Linked DNA regions of Homo sapiens: region 1 is linked to region 2. Evidence: promoter capture Hi-C in 16 types of primary human blood cells and fetal thymus (Javierre and others, 2016). All regions are on one chromosome and are shown on one strand. Each heading gives the region's core, a stretch centred on a gene start or on the middle of the fragment in contact. The rest is flanking DNA. Distances are from core to core; before and after follow the strand shown.

Region 1 (4,822 bases), core at 956-3,455, 77 kb before region 2:
AGAATGGTGTGTCCATGTGTGGCTCTGTCTGCAGCACCATTTGGGGTTTGATTGCTTCTAGGTGAAAAGAGATAAATTTTACAAGGAGGTTTAAAATATAGGATTAGAATATGAGTATCGAGATTACCACTGTTAATGGAGGGCCTATAGACCATAACTATGACAGTAGAGTTTGATACCTGTTAGTTACACCAATGGATTGTAATACCAGTTTGCCTCCACTAGATGTCGCTGTACATAATCAGAAACATTCATATAAAAGTAACATTCCTTTTAGGAAAAGTGGCATTGGATTGGGTGGCTAGAATAACTTTAGTGTTAACCTTGGCTACATTTTTCCTGCAATTATCAATCCTTTCATGACTTCCACAGAAAATCTCTTTCCTTTATAACCTTTGCATAACCAGGATGTGACATATTACCAAACCCAATAAGAAGTTCTAGCAAACTCAGTGATAGTAAAACTTTCATGCTTCCCTTTTGTTGGCAGCTATTATCCCTACTATAAGGATAATAATTAAGCAAAAAATATTGCAGCAATGGAAACTCTCCGTCCAATATTTCAATTAAAAGGTGCTACCGGCCAGGCGTGGTGGCTCATGCCTGTAATCCCAGCACTTTAGGAGGCCGAGGTGGGCGGATCACCTGAGGTTGGGAGTTCGAGACCAGCCTGACCAACATGGGAAAACCCCGTCTCTACTAAAAATAAAAAAGTAGCCGGGTGTGATGGCGCATGCCTATAATCCCAGCTACCAGGGAGGCTGTGGCAGGAGAGAATCGCTTCAACCCGGGAGATGGAGGTTGCAGTGAGCCGAGATCCCGCCATTGCACTCCAGCCTGGGCAACAAGAGCGAAACTGAGCCTCAAAAAAACAAAACAAAACAAAACAAAAAACAGTGCTACTGTGTATAGCTCTACTACAAATAGTAGAGTGAGTAGAGCAATTCCTGCAAGTGTGGTGTAAGTAGATAATTTCCATCTAAAATTTTACTTGCTAAGATATAGAATTTCCCTTTGGGGATCTATAAAGTTCCTTGGTTCTATTTCCCTAAACAAAGAAACCTCTGAGTTATGGGCACCCTATTCACTCTCATTACCTGGCAGAATTTACAGGATAATTGCCCAGAACTAGCATATTGATCTAGATTTTCACATTACCTATGCCTTTTTGTTTCTTCCAAGCTGCAGGAGATCACCACTTGATTCACAGGAATAAGCAGGGTTAGTCTAAAATGTAGGCAAAAAGCTGAAAAACAATTAATGAGACTATGATTTAATGACAAATGTATGATAAGCTTTGGAGCATAATGATAAGCTTTAGAGCATAGTTTCTCTCTCTAGTCCCCATTTTTGGTAAAAGCAAATTATGATAGTATTGTGTTGTTTGTAGAATAAACTTTAGTTTTATATTTGGCCTGATTATTTGCATAAAGTACAGTAAGAATAATTATTTCTATGTAAGCCTTTTGGATTGGCTTTGATGGCACTCTGTTTCAAAAGGAATCTCAGATAAGACCTCTTAAAGCCCAGCCATGAGTTTTTATCCTGTGAGTCCCAAGATAAACTTGGAGCTCCTGGACCTGTTAGAAAGTGACATTCTTTACTGACCACAGATTAGGAACCCTGTGCGGGGACTGTGTAGACAAGGGATGAGGCCAGTTCTCCCCAAGAGGCTTTTATCGGCACTGGAAGTAAAGATAGACTCTTAAAGGGAAGCATACCCTTTCGGTCAAAGCCTTGGTAAAATAACTAGCTTTTCCAGTTGTGTCCTGTTGAAAAAGAAAAATGGATCTTATTGCACTGATGCAAACAACTATATTTCCATAAGTTAAGAGTACTCACAGGCAGTTTCCAACTTCTAGAGGAACCAGGCAGACAGAAACAAACGTGCTCCAAATTTTGTTTGCAGGAGTATACCTTACTCAATTATTAAAGGCCATAAATAGTTTAAAATAAGTTTTCTTAACTCTGAAAAACAAAACAAGGATCAGCAACATTCCAAGTAAAAGTCAAAAAGGTTGCTTTAACTTTCTGAGTGCAGTCCATTTAGTTAACTCTTGTATTGCTTGACATTCGTGAACATTTCAGTTCTTCATGAGTCCCACACATTCTTTCTCTATTCCAATGTTACAATCTTCAAGGCTATTAAAAACTCACATTTGAGAACACCTGTTCAAGTTTTATAGCTTGATTATAACCTATCTTTTAAGAAGGAACAAAGCAAGACAAAATGGTCTTTGAATGACAAAATTTCCAGGATAGTTACAGTTAAAAACATGACTGACAGGCTGGGCATGGTGGCTTATGCCTGTAATCCCAGCACTTTGGGAGGCCAAGGCAGGCTGATCACGAGGTCAGGAGATCGAGACCATCCTGGCTAACATGGTGAAACCCCGTCTCTACTAAAAATACAAAAAATTAGCCAGGCATGGTGGTGGGTGCCGGTAGTCTCAGCTACTCAGGAGGCTGAGACAGGAGAATGGCATGAACACGGGAAGTGGAGCTTGCAGTGAGCCAAGATCACGATACTGCACTCCAGCCTAGGCAACAGTGTGAGACTCCATCTCAAAAAAAAAAAAAAAAAAAAGACTGACAAAGAAATTTAGTTATCTCCATGGCTTATAACTTTACCCCTAATTACTATTGATAGCATATATTTAGACATTAAAATTTTAGAAATCCCATACAATTTTGGAACATATGTTAGTATTATTCATCAAAATATAACTTAAAGAAGATTGGACATCGTTTTGGCAATTTCATGTGACAAAACATGTCAAATAATCCTGTTCACCTCTTTTCTGAATGTTTCAGGGGCCCTCTGAACCATCCAGAAAGCCAGGCATCAGGAAAGACAATTTTGAAACTTAAAGTTTGATTTTTGGGTGCCTGTTAAATGTTAGAGGTTTAAAACACTTGATGTTATGAAATAGAATTCCAAATTGCCATAAATTATTTATTTTGCCAAAACGATGACTCAAAAAGCAAAAATTTTTATTATCCTTTATTATTACATGAAAATCCTGTTTAAGCAAAATTTTACCCTTGCATTAATTTACTGATATCAATCCCAATTTCTTTAAATGGAAGCTTATAGATGATTCCATCTAATCTTAACCAATTTGACCATGAGGTGAAATCTTTACAAGCCCTTTATAACCTCTTTTACTAACGGGCAGATTAGTGTCTTAAGACACCCTTGTTGTGCTTTTATTTCAATGCTCAATTTATGAAAAGACCATGTAATATGCTTTTGAATTTAGTTAGGTTTACACATTTTTGCAAGATTAATTTTTACAATCTTTCCACAACTTACTTAAACATTTAGCTTTATCTTATTAAATGTAAGATAATCCCTTATTCCTGGGCAAAATTTGGATTTCCATGCTTTCTTATAATCTTTTACTAAAAAACACATTTCACTGTTTTTATATGCCTTGAATGTAAAACTGTTTAATGATCTCAAATACATGTTGCACTCTTAACTCTTAGCAACTTTTATTTTTGGTGAAAAGCCTGGTTAGTAAGTGTTTTTAATTGTTGTTGTGTTTCTTGAGACAGAGTCTTGCTGTCGCCCAGGCTGGAGCGCAGTGGCACGATCTCAACTCACTGCAACCTCCACCTCCTGGGTTCAAGCAATTCTCCTGCTTCAGCCTCCCTAGTAGCTGGGATCACAAGCACCCGCCACCATGCCCAGCTAATTTTTGTATTTTAGTAGAGACAGGGTTTCACCATGTTGGCCAGGCTGGTCTCGAACTCCTGACCTCAAGCAATCCACCTACCTAGGCCTCCCAAGTGCTGGAATTACAGGCATGAGCCACCGCACCCAGCCAGTAAGTGATTTTAGTTATGTACCAGCTTAAATATTAAAGTCACACGAACTAAAAAATATTTCAGTGCTTATTTTTTCTTTAAGCCAATTAATTGGAGCTCTTTTTATAGACATCACACAAAACACATACACAGCGACACAGACAGAAGATTCAGCACTTGTAAGATTTTTATTTGACGCTTTCATAACTGGATTACTGGCTTCAGGGTGGAGCCCTTGGAGGAACAGGGCCGGGATGGCATGCATCTTTAGGGACTAATAAGCAAGCACAGCCACAGGTAAAGACAGATCTGGAAAATTAAGGATGCCTTTTTATGCTGGATTTTTGGATCCCCAAAAGGAGGGAGAGCCATCTTTTAAAGAGTGTATTTCTTACTTAATTATTACACACCAAAGCTCTCTCCTAATGTGAAGTAATTTGATACCCCCAAAACTCAAAATGGCCAGATAACACAAGGCAAAACAGAACAGAGCCTTTGATTTTGAGAGGGAAGTATCTGCTTTTAATTCCTGGGGTTTCATGAGGAAAACAGAGGTTTTTTTCCCAAAACAATGTCTGTGGCACCTCCTCTGTTTTCCCACGGAGTCCCATGCTACCAGAAGTTATCTTAGGGCCTCTCATGTATGCATTAAGTGTGGCAAGACAAAAAACGGAGAAAAATAATTCAGTAGACTGAGAAGAAAAAAACCTTTTTCCAGAAAAACAAGATCCAAGAAGCGAAAACCATAAAGGCCTTTTAAATATACCTATAACTTGAATATCCACTTTTGATTAAGCTGAGTGCTGTTTAAGAAAATCCTTTTAAATCCCTTGTTACTCTACTTTAGCCACGCCAAGCAGTTAAGATTTTTCAGCTTTTGAACTTTACAAAAAGTAACCTCACAGGTGAAACCAACAAACCTTAATTAGGTTATGATTAACCACAGGTGTACAAGATATCTTCAAAGTGGGTGACAGGCAATTTTTGAAACCATCATTGCAAAATTGTC
Region 2 (4,286 bases), core at 1,787-4,286:
AATGAAAATCTCCCTGCTGAAGAATGTTAGCATGGGGTTGGGAAAATTGTATATATTTATTGGTCCTATATTTCTGTCCTTTACAAAGAATCTTTAATGTGTTGACCTTGAAGCCTCCCTCAGCTGAAGAACAGGATCTTATTCTTTTAAATCTGCCTGTTTTTATGTAGCCTATTAAAAGGAAAAGACTTCAGTAGGTTATTTTAGATATAGTATAATCATTTAAAAACTCTTTTTAAAAACCAAGGTGTGACTAATACAGTCATATTGAAACTATGGAAGAGATACAATGGTCTACTCCAGTGAAAAATATATTCAAGTTGATAAAGCAAAATTTCAAAAACCAAATGTGGCAAAATCATGTGAAAACACTTTCAATGTTCCTGTTTATTCTTTAAATGCATACATCATCTGGTTAAAGTGAGTAATCTAAAAATTAATTACTCACACTTGAACCATGTTACAAGAGGAGGTAATTCATCTTAGCAATAAGAAACTTTACCACTGTTTTTAGGGCCTTGAAATTATGAAATGAGCCAAAAGCAGAGCATCAAAGGGAAAACAGGTCAAAAGCCCTGTTTCAAAAATCTTTAGGGGCCTAGACTAAGCTACAAAAATGGACAATCCTCCTTATGTCTTGCCCAAGAAAATGTTTCTGTGTAATCTACAATAATCATGTTTTCACTTACGAGAAGCCACAATTCCTACAGCAACCTTAAAATGAAACCAAGAGGCGACAATAAAAACATTGCTTTAAAACAACTGTTCTTGAAAAATCCCTTTGGATCTGGAATCCATTACCACTGTATGGCTTGCCTTGTATCTCAATAACAGTCATCACAGGTGTTTGAAACAAGCAGGCCTTGGCTTTGGTGTTCCCCCCACCCAAAATGGGACAACTCTCTGATCATAATCACTCAGGCTGAGTGTAATCACCTACAGTTTTCTGAAGTGAGGGTCAATAATGTCTCCTTTTAGTTTCTATGAATAGCATTTTTCATAGTTGCTCAGATGCCTTCCCTCATGTAGGCTTGGGTAGGCCATGATATAAATAAAACACTGCCTAGATTATTTTATAAGCAGGGCAGTTTGCTGAATATACAACTGAGGGAGACAGGCTTGTTTTCATAACTTTGATAATAATCCTTCTGAGACACCATTTCCTCACCTGCTTTAATAACCCACCAGATAATTGTTGAAAGATCACCCCCTTACGAGTCTCCCAAGTAGACTGAAAATAATAACTACAAGAGATTATTTAGCAGTAAATTACAGCTGATCTACAGAAGTTCTTTAAAGCAAAAAAAAAAAAAAACAAAAAAAAAACACTACCATCTCATTAGAGTGACCAGAGATTCTAAATAGTCCAAGGAATCTTTGCAGGAGGAATAAAGATAAATTAGATAAATTATAGTATCAATTAACATTTATTGAGTGTTTATGTGCCAGGCACTGTTCTATGTGATTTACACGTGCTATCCCATTTATTTCTCAAAACAGCCCAGTGAATATATACCAAGATTATCCCCAGTTAGACAAAGGGTGACAAGAAGAATAAAATATTAACTATCTTCTGTTAATAAATTAACTACTACCAGCACCCTCATCATATATGTTTATCCAATTCTTTTAGTTCAAATGTTTATCTGTCTATACCCACTGACCTGATTCCCATATCCTAAAGCCCCTTCTCATCCTCTCCAACCTTATCAACTGCCATTACTGGCAGGTGCGTATGCACTAGACCTTATTTTTGGTAAATTTTAAAATAATCATAACTATCGTCTACTATATGCAAATCCCTGTTCTAAGTACTTTACGTATATTCAACTATTAATCATAACTGACATCAATATATGAGGTTGGTAAAATTATTATCTCAGTTTTCAGATGAGGAAACTGAGGCACACAGAGGTTACATAACTTGCCCAAAGTCATGTAGTTAGTGGCAGAGCCAGGATTTGAATCCAGCCAGTAAGCATTCAGAGTCCACACTCAGCCATTGTTTATACTGCTTTTGAAGCATATTAAGAATTAACTCTTAAAAGTCAAGAAATCTGTGCTATGTTTTGTTTCCTTTAACATTTGGTGCACAGGACATCACACTGCAAACACGGAGTGTATTCCACAACTCTCTAAGGTAAACAATAATAAAATAGAAATTTATCAAGCTTCCTTCATCTAGTAAATATTCTTTTTGTTGTAACACAAGTATGAAATTCTGAATAATTCAAACACTTCTATGCTTAGTCCCTGCTTACTTACTACAGAATTATTAAAGAATTACCCAAAAGTTCTTGGACTGGAAAGATGTGAAAAAGCCACTAACTCTATTTTCCTAGAATGAAGATGAAAAGAAGATGTGTTTAGGAACCTTCTCTGCTTCCCTAAAAGAACCCTAAAAACAGGAGTAAAAACAGTGAAGAAAACAAAGGACCTTCAAAGTGCACTCGTTAAAACCTAATAACTGTATTTCTATTACTAAATGTAGAAGTGGTAAACATCTTTAACAGGCAATGTCTCCCCTGCACTCTAGGGATTCAAAGATCCATCTTTCGGTTCTGTAAGACAGTCACGGCTTTTGTAACCTCGGTGCCCCCTTCAACCTCCCGCCCCAAGCACCTCCAGGGTCGTCAGGGGTGTAGTTTTGAGTCGCGCTCCTAAGCATCCAGACAGGCAGGACACCGTAACGACATCTCTGCCGGGAGTCCCTTCAGACTGCGGTCTCCAGGTAACCGCACTCCAACAGAAGCAGTTGTGCTTCCTATCGGGTCACCTGTTCAAAAGTCCCCAGGAGAGGCTCCAGCAATACCAGGGTAGCGGTTTGCCCGACACCGCTCCGGGCGCTGCAGCCTTCCGGCAACCCGGACGTTGGGTCGGTGTCAGCCACTCTCACCTCCCATTCCCTAGTTTTCCTCCTTTGCTCCCGTCTAGTCACTTCGCACCTTCGGCTAGTCTTTATTCACAGACACATTCCAGGAGTCCCCTCTCCCAGAGCAACAAAGACAGATTTCCAAAGCTACACATCCCAGAGAGAACGGATTCTTGGGAAATGTGGTTCTTTCAGCTGACGCATGGTGACTCTTTACGGAAAAGGACTACAATTCCCAGAAATCCTAGGGAGCATATAGTCCGTGGCTAAAACATGTCCCAGCTCCTTGGATGGAATGGCAGTAAAGGTTCTGTGGCTCTTTACTGACCTAACTCCTTGGATTTTCCTCATTCAGTCCCACTGCAAGCGTGTGGGAGGACTTAAAAAAATGCTATTCACATGTGAAGGAATCTAAATACGATGATTATATGAAGCGATCTCTAAGTCATTTTATTTTATAATTCTTTCAGACAAAAATCTACGTACCATCAGAAACTATGTCTCTGCAGATGGTAACAGTCAGTAATAACATAGCCTTAATTCAGCCAGGCTTCTCACTGATGAATTTTGATGGACAAGTTTTCTTCTTTGGACAAAAAGGCTGGCCCAAAAGATCCTGCCCCACTGGAGTTTTCCATCTGGATGTAAAGCATAACCATGTCAAACTGAAGCCTACAATTTTCTCTAAGGATTCCTGCTACCTCCCTCCTCTTCGCTACCCAGCCACTTGCACATTCAAAGGCAGCTTGGAGTCTGAAAAGCATCAATACATCATCCATGGAGGGAAAACACCAAACAATGAGGTTTCAGATAAGATTTATGTCATGTCTATTGTTTGCAAGAACAACAAAAAGGTTACTTTTCGCTGCACAGAGAAAGACTTGGTAGGAGATGTTCCTGAAGCCAGATATGGTCATTCCATTAATGTGGTGTACAGCCGAGGGAAAAGTATGGGTGTTCTCTTTGGAGGACGCTCATACATGCCTTCTACCCACAGAACCACAGAAAAATGGAATAGTGTAGCTGACTGCCTGCCCTGTGTTTTCCTGGTGGATTTTGAATTTGGGTGTGCTACATCATACATTCTTCCAGAACTTCAGGATGGGCTATCTTTTCATGTCTCTATTGCCAAAAATGACACCATCTATATTTTAGGAGGACATTCACTTGCCAATAATATCCGGCCTGCCAACCTGTACAGAATAAGGGTTGATCTTCCCCTGGGTAGCCCAGCTGTGAATTGCACAGTCTTGCCAGGAGGAATCTCTGTCTCCAGTGCAATCCTGACTCAAACTAACAATGATGAATTTGTTATTGTTGGTGGCTATCAGCTTGAAAATCAAAAAAGAATGATCTGCAACATCATCTCTTTAGAGGACAACAAGATAGAAATTCGTGAGATGGAGACCCCAGA

Evidence for each region. The method cuts DNA at HindIII sites, captures the fragments that hold promoters and counts their contacts. A CHiCAGO score of 5 or more calls a contact.
Region 1: a contact is called between a fragment that was not itself captured here and the fragment with the promoter of IFTAP in region 2, in 1 of 17 cell types (fetal thymus). The highest score is 6.1, in fetal thymus.

Annotation. Positions count from the first base shown.
Region 1 is chr11:36,668,422-36,673,243 of GRCh38, reverse strand. It overlaps LOC107984325 (a long non-coding RNA gene), which reads right to left and starts at 2,355. Exons shown (of 3, transcript XR_001748186.1): 1 at 1,722-2,355; 2 at 1,159-1,246; 3 at 1-57. The HindIII fragment of the contact is 1,775 bases long and covers 1,318-3,092 here.
Region 2 is chr11:36,593,252-36,597,537 of GRCh38, reverse strand. IFTAP (intraflagellar transport associated protein) reads right to left here and starts at 3,036. Exons shown (of 6, transcript NM_138787.4): 1 at 2,946-3,036. It overlaps RAG2 (recombination activating 2), which reads left to right. Exons shown (of 2, transcript NM_000536.4): 2 at 3,343-4,286. The coding sequence starts at 3,370. RefSeq lists an enhancer at 2,990-3,129. The HindIII fragment of the contact is 5,310 bases long and covers 2,174-4,286 here.